Regions from separate parts of the Homo sapiens genome. Here regions 1, 2, 3 and 5 are each linked to region 4. Evidence: promoter capture Hi-C in human tissues and cell types (Jung and others, 2019). All regions are on one chromosome and are shown on one strand. Each heading gives the region's core, a stretch centred on a gene start or on the middle of the fragment in contact. The rest is flanking DNA. Distances are from core to core; before and after follow the strand shown. Region 1 overlaps SLC29A3 (solute carrier family 29 member 3). Region 2 overlaps CDH23 (cadherin related 23). Region 3 overlaps CDH23 (cadherin related 23). Region 4 holds the start of CDH23 (cadherin related 23). Region 5 overlaps SLC29A3 (solute carrier family 29 member 3).

The links. Contacts are between HindIII fragments. The study calls those that stand out against the background at their distance.
Region 1: a contact is called between a fragment that was not itself captured here and the fragment with the promoter of CDH23 in region 4, in 1 of the 25 tissues and cell types used here (aorta).
Region 2: a fragment that was not itself captured here is called in contact with the fragment with the promoter of CDH23 in region 4 in 1 of the 25 tissues and cell types used here (adrenal gland).
Region 3: a fragment that was not itself captured here is called in contact with the fragment with the promoter of CDH23 in region 4 in 1 of the 25 tissues and cell types used here (IMR-90 fibroblasts).
Region 5: a contact is called between a fragment that was not itself captured here and the fragment with the promoter of CDH23 in region 4, in 11 of the 25 tissues and cell types used here (H1 embryonic stem cells, IMR-90 fibroblasts, aorta and 8 more).

Annotation. Positions count from the first base shown.
Region 1 is chr10:71,336,994-71,339,693 of GRCh38, reverse strand. All of the region lies in intron 2 of SLC29A3 (solute carrier family 29 member 3), which reads right to left. Among named protein-coding and RNA genes, the nearest start is that of SLC29A3, 19 kb to the right of the region's middle. The HindIII fragment of the contact is 3,390 bases long and covers 1-2,700 here.
Region 2 is chr10:71,431,027-71,433,726 of GRCh38, reverse strand. The region is part of intron 1 of CDH23 (cadherin related 23); the gene reads right to left. Among named protein-coding and RNA genes, the nearest start is that of CDH23, 35 kb to the right of the region's middle. The HindIII fragment of the contact is 6,567 bases long and covers 1-2,700 here.
Region 3 is chr10:71,448,513-71,451,212 of GRCh38, reverse strand. All of the region lies in intron 3 of CDH23 (cadherin related 23), which reads right to left. Among named protein-coding and RNA genes, the nearest start is that of CDH23, 53 kb to the right of the region's middle. The HindIII fragment of the contact is 3,738 bases long and covers 1-2,700 here.
Region 4 is chr10:71,395,649-71,398,348 of GRCh38, reverse strand. It overlaps CDH23 (cadherin related 23), which reads right to left and starts at 1,429. Exons shown (of 70, transcript NM_022124.6): 1 at 1,031-1,429. RefSeq lists an enhancer at 626-1,137 and a silencer at 1,821-1,910. The HindIII fragment of the contact is 12,378 bases long and covers 1-2,700 here.
Region 5 is chr10:71,357,990-71,360,689 of GRCh38, reverse strand. All of the region lies in intron 5 of SLC29A3 (solute carrier family 29 member 3), which reads right to left. Among named protein-coding and RNA genes, the nearest start is that of CDH23, 38 kb to the left of the region's middle. RefSeq lists a silencer at 1,016-1,105. The HindIII fragment of the contact is 3,004 bases long and covers 1-2,700 here.

The DNA.
Region 1 (2,700 bases), core at 73-2,572, 59 kb after region 4:
CCCACCAGTGAGGATGCCAGCGCAGCTCATCTGTTGAAAGCAACCTGAGGCTTCCTTAGCACCAACAGCCCCTCCTGAGCTGAAGCAAACCACACTGTGTTGTCCATCCCATCCACAGGAGGGCTGGCAGAACCTCAAGCAGCCAAGGCACTCAACCCCCAGAGCGCTAATGGCAGAGAGGCCCATCAGTCACCTCTGAATTCTCAAACCCACGTGGGAGAGGCCCAGCTCTGAGGAACAGAGGGATAGCTGTGCTCCCTGAATGTGAGATCTGATCTCCCTGCGCACCACTATCTCCCTAGCGTTATCTGCACCCTGCAATGACCTGGAGCTCAGGCAGGGTGTGGGACTCAACATCCAGTCTCTAAGTAATCGCATCAAAGTCAGTTAACCCAGGTGGGGAAGTGGGAGCTCTGCAGAATGCCAGGGAACTCTGACATGCAAGCAGCACAGCTTCCAGAGGGCCTGCACACACCCCAGCCCATGTGCTCTTACCACAGCCAGTGAGGGCGAGGCAGGGCTGGAATCGCTCTCATTTTACAGATAAGCAGCCTGAGGCTCACAGAGGTAGAGGAATTTCCCAGAGGTACACAGAGGTCCACATTGGGAGTGCTGGTGGCAGCATCTTTTGCTGCAGAGCAGGGCAGAGACCGGGTGGAGACATATTTATCATCCCCCTACAAATGTATAAGCTGCTCTAGCTGAGGTTGTCTGTCTCCTGGAGGCACAAGCCCAAACACTATCACTGGGGTCGCGGTGCATCACCAGGAAGCCTCAGATGCTGGGCCTGGCAGCCACATGCCTTCCAGCAGCAAGCAGGAATGTGAGACACGTTCCTCTCAGGGAGGGCAGTGTCTTTCTTCTACCTGGCCCTAAGGTGCAGGTGACCTGCCCAAGCCAGCAAATGACAGAGTTTGATTTTTTTTTCTTTTTTTTCGAGACAGAGTCTCGCTCTGTCGCTCAGGCTGGAGTGCAGTGGCATGATCCTGGCTGACTGCAACCTCCGCCTCCTGGGTTCAAGCAATTCTCCCACCTCAGCCTCCCGAGTAGCTGGGATTACAGGCGTACAATACCACACGCAGCTAATTTTGTATTTTTAGTAGAGACAGTGTTTCACCATGTTAGCCAGGATGGTCTTGAGCTCCCGACCTCAGGTGATCCACCTGCTTTGACCTCCCAAAGTGTTGGGATTACAGGTGCTGAGCCATGGTGCCCGGCCAGGGTTTGATTTCTTTCTCCTCTTTCTGCAGTGGTAGACAAGAGTAAAGGAATACATTAGCTAATCTTTTCTCTCAAATCCCACCGCCCATTCCCCTCAGCATTTCCAGAGGCCTATGGGTCTTCGTAGTTTTAAAAAGAAAAGAAAAGAAAAAGATTAAGAGAAAAGCCCCCACCTCTGTCAGTTACCCAAAATTGACGGACATGGTTGGCAGCTAAGCAAAGACCATGTTAAAGAGTGTCTGTGGGTGGGCAGCATGGGGCAGGCTTCCAAGCTCTCGCCTTACTCTGCAACCCCTGCAAAGAGCCCCAGAGTGGGCATGGGGGCCTCACCCAGACTGGCCCAGGGTGGGCATGGGGGTTCCTCACCCAGACTGTGGACAGGCCCTGGCCCAGGGGTGCCAGGCGCCAGGGTACCCCCATATGGTGGGTGAATGTGGATGAGCCACTGCTGGCCTGGGCAGGGGGGCACTTGAGTTGCTCGCTATGGTGAGAAGGAAACTCATTTCCATTTGCTACACTGACCCAGTTTGCGAACACCAGGAAAGGGGAGAGATGCTCTTCAAACACAATTTAAAAGCCCACCAGAGCCAGCTGGCCAGATGTGAGGCCCATTTTATGACGGGCCACATTTCCTCTCCTCCGCCACACTGAGAGGCTCCGTGCTAAGGGTCTCTTCTGGAAGAATTCAATTCCAGGCTCAGAGTCCAGGTAAAGAGGTTTCTTCGGGCAGGGAGGCCCCGAAATGAGCCCGTTTATCTCTGGCAGACCCTGGTTAAGCTTTCTCTTCCCTGAATGCCATTTGGGCACTTTGAAATAAGTGCAGCAAATTAGTCACGAGCTGCGGCAGACTCAGTGTCCGTGCTGCTGAGTGGCTTCTGCGAGGCAGCTTTGTGCAGCCCCCACCTCCAGGAAGCAGCAGCAGAGGCAGCTGGGCTCCTACCGGGCGGGCGAGGAAAAGCGATTCAAGCCTGGGGGTGGCAGCTCAAGGCAGCAGAGCGTTACCTGGATCACAGGGGCATGAAATTAGCAGCAGCGAGCAGGTTGGAGCCAAGAATAGTTTGCCATTGCAAACTTGCCGCTTTCGGATAGCTGAGTTCTGCGGCCTGGGATATTGCAGGGGAGGTGCCCTTGCCCTGGGCATCAGCCCAGATCATTCCTGAGCAAAATGAGGTGAGCAGAGGGCAGATGTCCCCATAAGGGGTGGGGCTGGTAACCTTTCTGCAAGTTCCAAGGCCCTGTGTTTGGAGCACTGGCTCAGGAAAGATAATGGGTGTGTGGCCAAGGGCAGGGACCAGCTGGGAGGGCTGGCTGGGCAGGGAAGGGGGGCAATGCCTGTTCCAGGGGCCAGGCAGGAGGCTAGATGCAGCCAGGCTGAAGGGGAGGCCAGAGGCCCAAGGGAAGGACAAATCTGGGGTCAGAATCAGACAGGTAAGCTCTGGAAAATGCTGGCCAGACAGACGAAGCCACTGTGGCCACCCT
Region 2 (2,700 bases), core at 197-2,696, 35 kb before region 4:
AAGCACCTGGGAGGATGGCATTGCCATTAGCTAGGACAGGAGAGGCTGCAGGTGGAGCTGGCTGAGGGACAAGATCGGAAGTTCATTTGAGACATGGCGAGTCTGGCATGGCTGTTGACAACCAAGTAGCAACAGTGGGTCAGCAGCTGGACATGCTCAGCCAAGGTCCAGGATGGGCTGGAAGCAGAAGTGTGGGAGCCACCAGCAGGGAGGTGGTGCTTACCGCCACCAGAGGGGCAAGATCAGCAGGGCTCCCAAACCCCTGAGCTGAGGCAACTGGACAGAGAATCAGTCCGTCTTTGAAAATTGTCCAAAGAGCCTGAAAATGCATATACCCTGTGGCCCAGCAATTCCACCTCCTGAACCTCAGCTGAGGAAATTGCCATAGCTGTACGTGGACACCAAGCCACAGGGATGCCCACTGCTGCGTAACTTATGATAGATACCCAAAAGGGGACTGGCTCAACTGTGGGATGTCCCTAGGAAGCAACAGGGGATGGTGTTTGGATTCCTAGTGTGTGAATGTATGCAGGGGAGTGTGCGCATACAGCACTGTGGAGTGAAGCCAGGGTGTTGTGTGAGTGGTGAGGTTATGGGAAGTTTTATTGTCTTCTAGCTAGTTTCTGCATTCCGCCTATCTTCTGCAATAAGCATTCAACGTGTTGACATCAGTGGCCTCATTTATGGCCACCCTACCAAAATCTTGCCACAGCCTATGAACACATGGACAACCCTGATTAGACGTTCTCTCCCGCACTGTCCTGAGCCTCCCTGAAGGCCAGAGTCCCAGGTGCAAACACCAGGGGAGACTCTGGGAGCTGGGAGGGTCCTCGGCGGTCCTCTGGCTGACACCCCTCCCTGGGCTGCTACCAGACGTTTCTAGGGACATGGAGCTCCTTTTATCCTGGGCCGTGGGTCCCAGCTCGGGAGGCGCTGCCTCTCCATCCCGAGTCCAGCCCCACTGGGTCTTTCCTCGCTAGGCGAGGAGGTCGGATTGCTCCCATCACCAGGAGGGCTCCCTCATGCTCTGCCTGCAGGCAGCCACGAGCAGCAGAATGGGCTAAAACCCAGGCTCGGAGACAAGGCCCAAGGCTGGCACTTGGCCCCATACTGAGGGTTCTCCTTTCCCCAGGTGAGGACCAACAGTGTGAAAGAAAACTTGTGCCTGAAAGCACACACACACACTCTCTCACACACTCACCCACACACTCACACTCACCCACACACTGCACACACACACTCTCAAACACACACCTACACACTCACATGCTCTCACACACACGCTCTCAAACACACACTCACCCACACACTCACACACACACAAACACACACCACACAACTCACACACTCTCAAACACACACCCAGACTCTCACACTCACACACCGCACACACACTTTTTCAAACACACACCCACACATTCACACACTCACACACACACTCTCAAACACACTCATGCACACACACACTCTCAAACACATGCACACACACACATTCTCAAACACACTCATGTGCACACACTCACACACACACAATTGCGTTCTGCCACCCCCTCCAGGAGATGCATCCACAAAATGCCCCCACCCCACTGCACAACCCTGGAGGGCCCCTCCTTCCTGTTCCCACTCCTTTGCCCAGGTTGGAGGAAGCCAGGTTCCTTGCAAAGCTCCCCATGACCTGTAGGGGTTTCACCAAACACCTCTGAATCCCAGAAAAAAACCTAAGAGGAAGCCCGTTGAAGCCTGGTGTCCTAGACTGGAAAGGCACATTCCATGTCTCTGCTGGAGCAAGGCACACTCCCCTCTTTTGGGAAATAGGCAGTTCTGGGCCTAACTCCCGGGGCAGGGCCCCCACCGTGACCATCTCCCATCTCTCCCTGCAGCCCGGTCAGGAGGTACAAGGGCAGAGGGCACACTGCTGCCTGCCAACAGGCAACGCCTCCTGGCCTAGCAGGCAGGGGGGGACATGAGAGAATAGAGCAGGGGGAAGGAAAAGGGCAGGAGGGGACATCTGGGCAGCGTTTCAGTTTCTCGGGAGTGAGAGATTTTCACAGCATGGTGCCACGATTTAGTTTGAACTGTTATGAATTCCCATAAAATCAGATGCACTCAACTTTGAATAGAAATACAGAAATGCGCTGCAGAAATCAAATACAATTTGGTGATTATTCACCACTGCTACACACAGAGAGGTTCGTGCGTGCAAGAAGGCGCCTGCAGATGACACCATTAGGGCTGCTAATGGCCAAGCCCTTGTAGGTCACCGATGACCACGCTTCAAAGCCCACACTATCCAGGCCACTGCCGGGGAGGCTGCTGTGATGGAAAGAGTAGACAAGACCACCTCATGGCTATTCTGTTCTTGCACCCTCCCCTGGATCCCTCCCAGAAGCTTCCATGAAGTGGTGCCTGGGGCAGGAAGGCAGGGCACGACCTGAGACCCCCAGGGTGGGGAGCCACAGACATCAGCCTCCCCCATATGAAGCCTGGTGTCTCTGAGTTCCCCTCACCGACTCTTAAAAATATCATACAGCAAAAGATTTATTTTACTTTATTCTTTTGGGGAGCAGTGTACGGACGTAGTAAATAACTAAAAAGAAAGGGTGTACAGCAGGAAGCGAATCTCCTGTCTCCCCATCCCACAACTCCTTCCCAGAGGCAACGCTCAAGGTCTCATTCCAGAAGTTCTGTATGTTCATATTA
Region 3 (2,700 bases), core at 81-2,580, 53 kb before region 4:
GCTTGGACCTTGGTGATGGGAGTGGAAGGGCCGAGAGGTGAGAAGATTCTGGGATGATTTTGGAGACTGAGCCAACAGGATGCCCTAAGGGATGGGAGGGGAGGGGAGGGAGAAAAAGAGGCACAGGAATGAGTCCCAGCTTTTGGCCTGGGCAACTGGCAGGATGGAGCCACAGCTGAGATGGGGAAGGCTGCCGGTGAGGCAGGAATCTGGGGGAGGTCAGGATTCCAGCTTTGGACAAACTGAGGATGAAAATGTCCCTTTAGACATCAGGCAGAAATGTTGAGTAGAGAGGTGGCTATAGGAGTCTGGAGTCTTCCCTGAGAGCAGCCCAGACAGAAAATATAAAGCTAGGAGTTGTCAGCATATAGGTAGTGTCCAAGCCAGGAGGCTAGATGGGACCACCACGGGAATGAGAATGAGGAGAGGAGAGACAAGAGCTGAGCCCTGGGGCCCTCTGATGCTAAGAGGTGCGGGAGGAACCAGCAGAGAGGCTGGGAAGGGGCGGGTGGTGTCCTGGAGGAGAAAAAGATCAACCAATTGAAGGCCACAAGGTCTGGGAAGAAATGATGGGATTTAGCAACACAGAGGTGGTTGGTGATCTCGACATCAGCAAGGCTGGTGGGGCATTTCAAGTAGATTCAGGGCAAGACGCGGTGGCTCACGCCTGTAATCCTAGCACTTTGGGAGGCTGAGGTGGGTGGATCACCTGAGGTCGGGAGTTTGAGACCAGCCTGGACAACGTGGTGAAACCCCGTCTCTACTAAAAACATAAAAAAATTAGCTGGGAGTGGTGGCGTGTGCCTGTAATCCCAGCTACCCAGGAGGCTGAGGCAGGAGAATCACTGGAACCCGGGAGGTGGAGGCTGCAGTGAGCCAAGATTGTGCCACTGCACTCCAGCCTGGGTGACAGAGTGAGACTCCGTCTCAAAAAAAAAAAAAAAAAAAAAGTAGATTCAGGAGGTTAAGTGGGAGACAGCACCCCTGCAGCACCTGTCCCTCATGCTAAAGGCATCATGTGACCATTCAGGGCTGATAGGCAGGGCCAAGGTGTGGGTGAGGCCAACCAGCCTGACCAGGGACTGAGCTGCTGATCTGCCCTCACGCCACTCCACGCATTCCAGGCTCTGCTGCCAACAACTGATATTAACGTCTGGAGCAAGACATGCAGGGATTCAGGGCCCTGTCTGGGGAAGCAGGGCGATGTGAACAGACCAGGAGAAGGCAGCACTAGTTAATGACTTCATTTGGCTTCTGTCTTCTCCGGCTGGTAGACGGTCTTCAAAAAGAACATTACACAGAGGGAACTGGAGCCTGAGATAGGTGAGGAGATAGTAATGAACACGTAGGCTCTGTGAGGGATTTCAGATGGCCATGCTGTGCCCTCCCATTCTGCTCCCAGGCCACTGGCCCCCTGTTGGAACGCAGGCAAGAGCATACAAAACGAGAAGGCTCAGAAGGTTGGGGGTGGATAAAAGTCTCAGTCTCTAACCCAGGAAAGCACATTCACAGAAGCTACATATAGATAGACCCTGTAGCCCAACTCTACCTCTGATTCTTAAAAGGAATTTTTAAAATGAATTAATGCATAAAAACACTTAGGACACTGCCTTGAACAGTCAATAAATGCTGTTGTTATAATAATTTATGATATATCTATATATCTATATATATAGTATGTCATATGTGTTATATTATCATTTTTAATCTATGAGGCTCCAGCAATCAGAATTAGACCCAATGGGTAGTTCCAGGGAGGCAGGTTTCCTGTTAATCTTAGGAAGAATTTTTTCTTCCTGGAACCGTCCCACAGCACAGAGTGAGCTGCCTTGTAGGCCCACGAGCTGACCATCACTGGGTGTCTAAGGAGAAGCCAGGTAATGAGGCCTCGAGCTGGAAGTTTGATCTGCTTACAACTCCAACCTCTGGTGAGCCGACACGGTCAGCCTGGCTTGGGCTCTGCCTCTTGCCACTGGCACTGAGCACCACCCTGGACCCAGCTTATCTGTGTGTTTGTCCACCCTGAAAGCCCATGGCTTGTAGGACAGCCCAATCTGCCATCCCTGGGCCACACATGGGCTCTCCCTTTAGTAAAAACAAAACATTCCTGGGTTGGAAGCTTTAGAGGTGGTGGTATTGTATGTAAACTTCCCAACAATCCAGTGAGGGATCCAGTCACCCATTTTGGTGACTGGAACCCTGAGTCAAAGAGTGAACAGTTCATGAGAGCCAAGTCTCAAAGTCAAGTCTCTAGACCACCCCACTCCCCATGGCAGGAAAAAGGCCAGTCCCCTGGACAAGCCATTTCAACCTCCCCCTCTCCCTGGCCTGCTGGTGGGAGGCCTGCACCCATGGAGCCCACACGTCCATGTGAGTCCATACCCACCATCTGCTTGGCCCAGGGACAAGTGGGTGCCAGCACCCAGCAGAGGGCTCCAGGCTGGTCTCCTCTGAGAACCTAGAAACAACTGGGGCCAGCCAGGCTGCCCCAGCCAAAGTCCACTGGGCTCATCTTTCCAATGCCCACTCATTGTTGAAATGAGGAGATAGAGGCCCAGAGAGGTGCAGTGCTGTGCCCAAGGTTACACAGCGAGAAACAGATGTTGGGCTCCTGACTTTCAGGTGAAAGCTGTGCTGTTCCCATACTGATGCAAAAAGAAGAGAAGAGGCTGGGAGGGCGCTGAGGCAGCTCCGCACCCA
Region 4 (2,700 bases), core at 180-2,679:
CAATGCCAGCTCTGGTCTGAGAGGGCAAAGGACGTAGAAAAAGAAGGCTCTGCTTTCTGAATTACTAGGGAGGATGGGGGAGTATTACTACCGAGGAAAGGCTAATTTCCTCCCAGTGGACCGCTGACAGCACTAGGGCTGGGGCTGGGGTCGCAGTGGGGCGGCGGCTGGCATCGGATCTCCGCTCACAGCACGGAGGCAGCCTCTCTAGGTGCCCGCTCCGAGAAAGCCAGGCAGAGTCCCCGCCGGCTGGCGCCGTCACTGCCTTGGAACACGCGGGCTCTGCTCGAGTCCTGGGCTGACCTACGGTGGAGATGAGGGGCAGTGCTCCCGGGTGCCAGCTCCTGGGGGCAGCCAGCACCGCTCGTAGCGGACCAGTTCCAGGGCCAGGAAGGCGAAGCGAGAGCCGCAAAAGGCTCCCGGCTCCTCGAGGGGCGCGTCTTCCCATAGCTGGACCGAATTTGGGAGGATGTGTAAGTCCCCTGGGGTCTCCCGCGGGCACAGGGACTTGATGAGGGGAGGGGAGAACTACGTGCCTTTAGTTCCCCTCAGCGCCTCTGCCCAGCCCGCAGTAGGGGTGCGCCCCACCCCATCCCCACTGTCCAAATGGGGACCCAGGGCTCAGAAGGGGAGGGGATTGGATCCCAACGCGCTCCACTCTCGAAAATCTCTCCACCCCAGACCTGGACCCTCTCCGTAGCGCCGAGAGCAAAGCCCCCAAATGTTCGCGGTCCCAGGACCGGGGATGGGGGATGGGATGCCTGTCCTCCCAAGGCCAACGCGAATGGAATTCGAGTTCCCAGGAATCAAAGTTGCCGCGCGTCGGGGAGCTCGGAGCGGGGCGCGAGGCTAGGGCCAGGGGCCTGGGACCGAAGGATGCCGCGAGCGCCCGCCACGGGCGATGGCCGCGCTGGGAACAAGTGGTTCGGCAGCCGCGGTCACCACCAACTTCCCCGCCGCGCGGCGGGCGAACGGCGAGGGGAAGGAGAGGGAAGCGAGGAGGGAAGAGGCGGTGCGTGGCTCCGGGTACCGTGTGCGTGTGTGCAGCGGCGCCGCGCCTCGCCTCGCCTCGGGCTCTGCTCTCCGCCGGATCGGCCCCCGCGGGCCGCCTGCTCTGGCCCTGGCCACCGCCGCGTCTTCCCGCCGGCGCGAAGGCTCATCCGCGGCGTGCCGGCAGCTCCTGGGTCTCCGCGGGCCGCTCGCCGCTCGCCGCTCGCCGCTCGCAACTTCAGGCGCGCCGGGGGCTCGGACTGGGCGCGCCCCAAACGTCCAGAGGCTCTGCCACCCCGCGCTCCATGCCCAGGCCGGGCTGACTAGCCCCGACCACCTCAGCGTCCGGCCGCCGTCGGACGCGTCCTCTAGCCAAGCATCGCGCCTGCAGCCCGCGTCCCTCTCTCCCGAGCCGCCGCCGCCGCTCAAGTCCGCGATCAACTTTCCCTTGCTTCCCCCGCCCCGCTCGGCCCCCGCCCCGCTCGGCCCCCGCCGTCCAGACCCCGCCTCCCGCAGCTCCCTCCCTCACCTCCCGCCTCGCCCGGCCCCCGCCCGCCCGCCCGCGCTCGGCGCTCCCCCACCCCTCAGGCCGCCAGGACCCCCGAGCTCCCGCCCGGCCCCGCCCGGACCCCCGGGAGCGGCGCCGAGCCCCGCCGGGCGCTCAGGGCATGAATATTTCAGTGCTGGCGAAGCTGCCCTCTGCCGATGTCATGGCACCGGCTGCTGTGGCAACTCTACGAATCCCCCAAAGGGGCAGGGAGGAAGCCCGCGGAAGAGGCCCCAGGTGCGAGACAGAGCAGTGCCCCGCCAGGCCGCCAGCCGTCCCGCAGAGGGGCGCGCAGGGGGATGGGGCCCCCAGCGTCTCGTCCGCCCCGCGCCTCAGGCAGAGCGAGGTAACGCTCCCGGGAAGCCCGGGCGGGCGAGCGGGCGCTCGGCCTAGGTGAGCCCGCGCCATCTGTTGGCTTTAAGCGCCCCCTCTCTGCTCCCAGAGTCGCTGAGCAGTCCCTCTAGTCCTTGGGGCCTCTTGGCCTACGCTTCTCTCCAACCAGCTGCCTTTGCCCACCCGACTCGTGCGCTCCCATCTGCGCCTCCTCCCTCACTAGAGCTCAAGAGGCCTCCAAGTGCTTAGAAATGGAGGACCCCGGGTTGGAGGAGACCCGTGAGGTCACTTAGGCGCCCTCACCCCTGCGGGAGCTCCGTCTGCAGTGCCCGAGTCATGGTCTCCCGGCTCCTTTTTGCACACCTATAGGGACAGAGACTTTATGGCTTTCTGAGACAGCTGGATCAAGAAAGGGTCCATATGCAGGTAATGGAAGAGGTTTATCCCCTACCTTTGATCTTTACTTCCCCGGGGCTAAGCATTCTGATTTTTTAAAACTATTTCTCACATGACAGGATTTCCGAGCTGTCACTGTTCCAGTCAGTACATTGACAGTACCTGCCTGGAGCCAGGCTCTGGGCTGAGACTTTCTGGGCCTCAACTCATTCTATCTTCAATAAAGTCTTTCTGGTGGGCCCTGCCATTATCCCAGTTTTACAGTGAGAAACAGGCTTTAGGAGGTTGGGGACTTGCCCCTGTGGTGGAGTCGGGTATTGAACCCAGAATCTATCTGGTTCCAAAGCTCCAGTTCCTTACCATTCGCTCATTCATTATTCATTCATTCATTCACAGTCACTGCTATGTGCTAGCTAACTGAAATAGTTTCTAGG
Region 5 (2,700 bases), core at 180-2,679, 38 kb after region 4:
GATTTCTAGAAGAGGAAATTACTGGATTAAAAGGTTTATACCTTTAACATTTTGATAGCTACTGATAAACTGCTCTCCTAATAGGTACTACCAGTTTAACTCTGCCCAGCACCATTTACCCACCCTAACTGAAGTAACTTGCCCTGTTCATCTCTACCAGAGGCACCTGTTTAGTTCCTTCAAAAGAACTAACCACAATCTACAGTAATTGCATTGGTTTACTTGTTTATCATGTGTCTCCTTCGGTAGAAGACAGGTTCTTGTCATCCTTGTAATCCCAGCACTTTGGGAGGCCAAGGCGGGCGGGTCACTTGAGGTTAGGAGTTCAAGACCAGCCTGACCCAATGGTGAAACCCCACCTCTACTAAAAATACAAAAATTAGCCAGGCATGGTGGTGTGCAACTGTAGTCCCAGCTACTCAGGAGGCTGAGGCAGGAGAATCACCTAAACTCGGGAGATGGACATTGCAGTGAGCCAAGACCGCATCACTGCACTCCAGCCTAGGTGACAGAGTAAGATTCCGTCTCAAAAAAAAAAAAAAAAAAAAAAAAAAAGAAGAAGAAGACAGGTTCCTGGAGCAAGGACCACATTTGACTGTTTCCAGCTAAATCTTCAGGCACGGAGTAGCCCTTCAACACATAACTGTTGAAAGAACTGAGAAGCAGCCTATAGAAGTGTCTTCCTTATCCTCAACACTGAATATCATTAATCTTTCCAACTTCTGCACTCTGACCAATAAGAAAGCTTAGATCACTTTCCCTTACTGTGTGACCTTGCCTGAGCCACTCAACCTCTCTGGGTCCCAGGTATCTGAAAACCAGGAGACACAGGCTGACTGTATTAATGCAGCTCAAACAGAGGGAGTTGGTGTAGGGGTGTGTGTGTAAGCAGTAACTTGGTTCTGGTTTCAGCCTTGTCTCTGCCTCCCTGTGTGATCTTGGGCCAGGCACACCCCTCTCTGGGCCTGCTTCCTCCTCTGTAAAATGGAGGTTTCAAACAGCCAAGAAGTTTTGAAGCCCCAGTCAGTCCTCCCACCCTGAGGACCTGCAGATAACACCCATGTGGGTGAGTGGGTGTGTGGGAGGGCCCGTCCCCAGAATCCAGAATCACTCTTCAGTGACGGTGAACGGGGTGCTTCAGCCAAAAGCCCTGTCTGGTTTCACAATCGCTATCTACGGAAAGGAATATTCTTACTTCCCCTCTATTCAGCGTCGTCAGGTCCTTGCCTTAAGTCTGCTCTCAGGAAATTCCCCACCAAGTTCCTCTGGTCGCAGCTCTTCCTCCTAAGTTCTTCCAAATTTTCCTGCATCGCCTCACTCTCCCAAATGTAGGACGGGCGAGCTTGCCTTTTCAGGAAGATTTAGTCCAAGCAGACCTGGGAGCACAGCTCTCTCCATGAGCCCCATCCTTAGAGAAGTGTCTGTGAGCCCACAGATCCAGACCCTAGTTTTAATCAGCAAAGAAACAGAAGCTTCGGTCCAGGCACAGTGGCTCGTGCCTGTAATCAATCCCAGCACTTTGGGAGGCTGAGGCGGGTGGATCACTTGAGGTCAGGAGTTTGAGACCAGCCTGGCCAACACGGTGAAACTCTGTCTCTACAAAAAATACAAAAATTAGCTGGGCGTGGCAGCCCATGCCTGTTGTCCCAGCTACTCGGGAGGCTAACTTGAGGATCGCTTGAGCCCTGGAGATAAAGGCTGCCGTGAGCCGTGATTGTGCCACTGCACTCCAACCTGGGCGACAGAGTGAGACTCCATCACAAAAAAAGAAAAAGAAAAAGAAATAGAAGCGTCTACAGGATAGCATGGTCCTGGGTGTTCTCTGTCTCACATGCTCAGCTGGAAGGGACTCTGGCCTGCCCAAATGAGACTAGGAGCTAGGCTGACCAACCATCCTGGTTTGCCTGAAATTGTCCTGGTTTTAATACTTACAGTCCCTTGTCCTGGGAGCTCCTTTGGCTCTAGGCAAGCAAGGAAGGTTGGCTACCCTGCTGGAAACAGACCCACCCAAAGCACCAGAAACAGGACACGAGCAAACAACACAAGGAGTGGGGCGACCCTCCTGTTCCTCTGTTCATTCAGTGGCTGGAGAATCATTTAAGGCACAACGCTGAGGTGCCAGGCAGTGTACAGGATGCTGGGGGATGGAGAGCCAGCCAGGGCACAGGAAGCACGGGGACGTCAGCCTGGAGCCACAGCTAGGCAATTTCTGATGACAGCCCTGAAGGGGCGGGGAGGACTGGGCAGCCCAGGGGTCTGTAGGTGCCTGGGATACTGCATAGCTCAAGCAGATCAGCCCCCTCCTATCCTCAGAACCCTGAGGACTGCTGAAGCGGTGAAGAATCCTTTAGCTGGGGAAAGTGGCTCACTACCAGCCCAGGGGGAATCGCTGTTCTGCTGAAAGGCTGGGGGTTCTAGGGGTTAACGAAGTGACTCTCCTCATGAGGACAGGGAGAATGAATGATGAGATAAGGCCCTTGCAGTTGCGAGCCAGGGATGCAGCATGATCCGGTGGGGAGAGGCTACTCCAGAAACAGCTCCAGTCCTGCCGTGACTCACCAGATGAGTGACCTGGGGCATGCTTGTGAACTCTCCAAAGCTTCAGTTTCCCCAGCTCTCAAGTGAGAAAATACGATCACAGCTGCACAGATTGTCATAAATCATAAACAAAAATATACACATAAACTGCTTAGCTTTGTG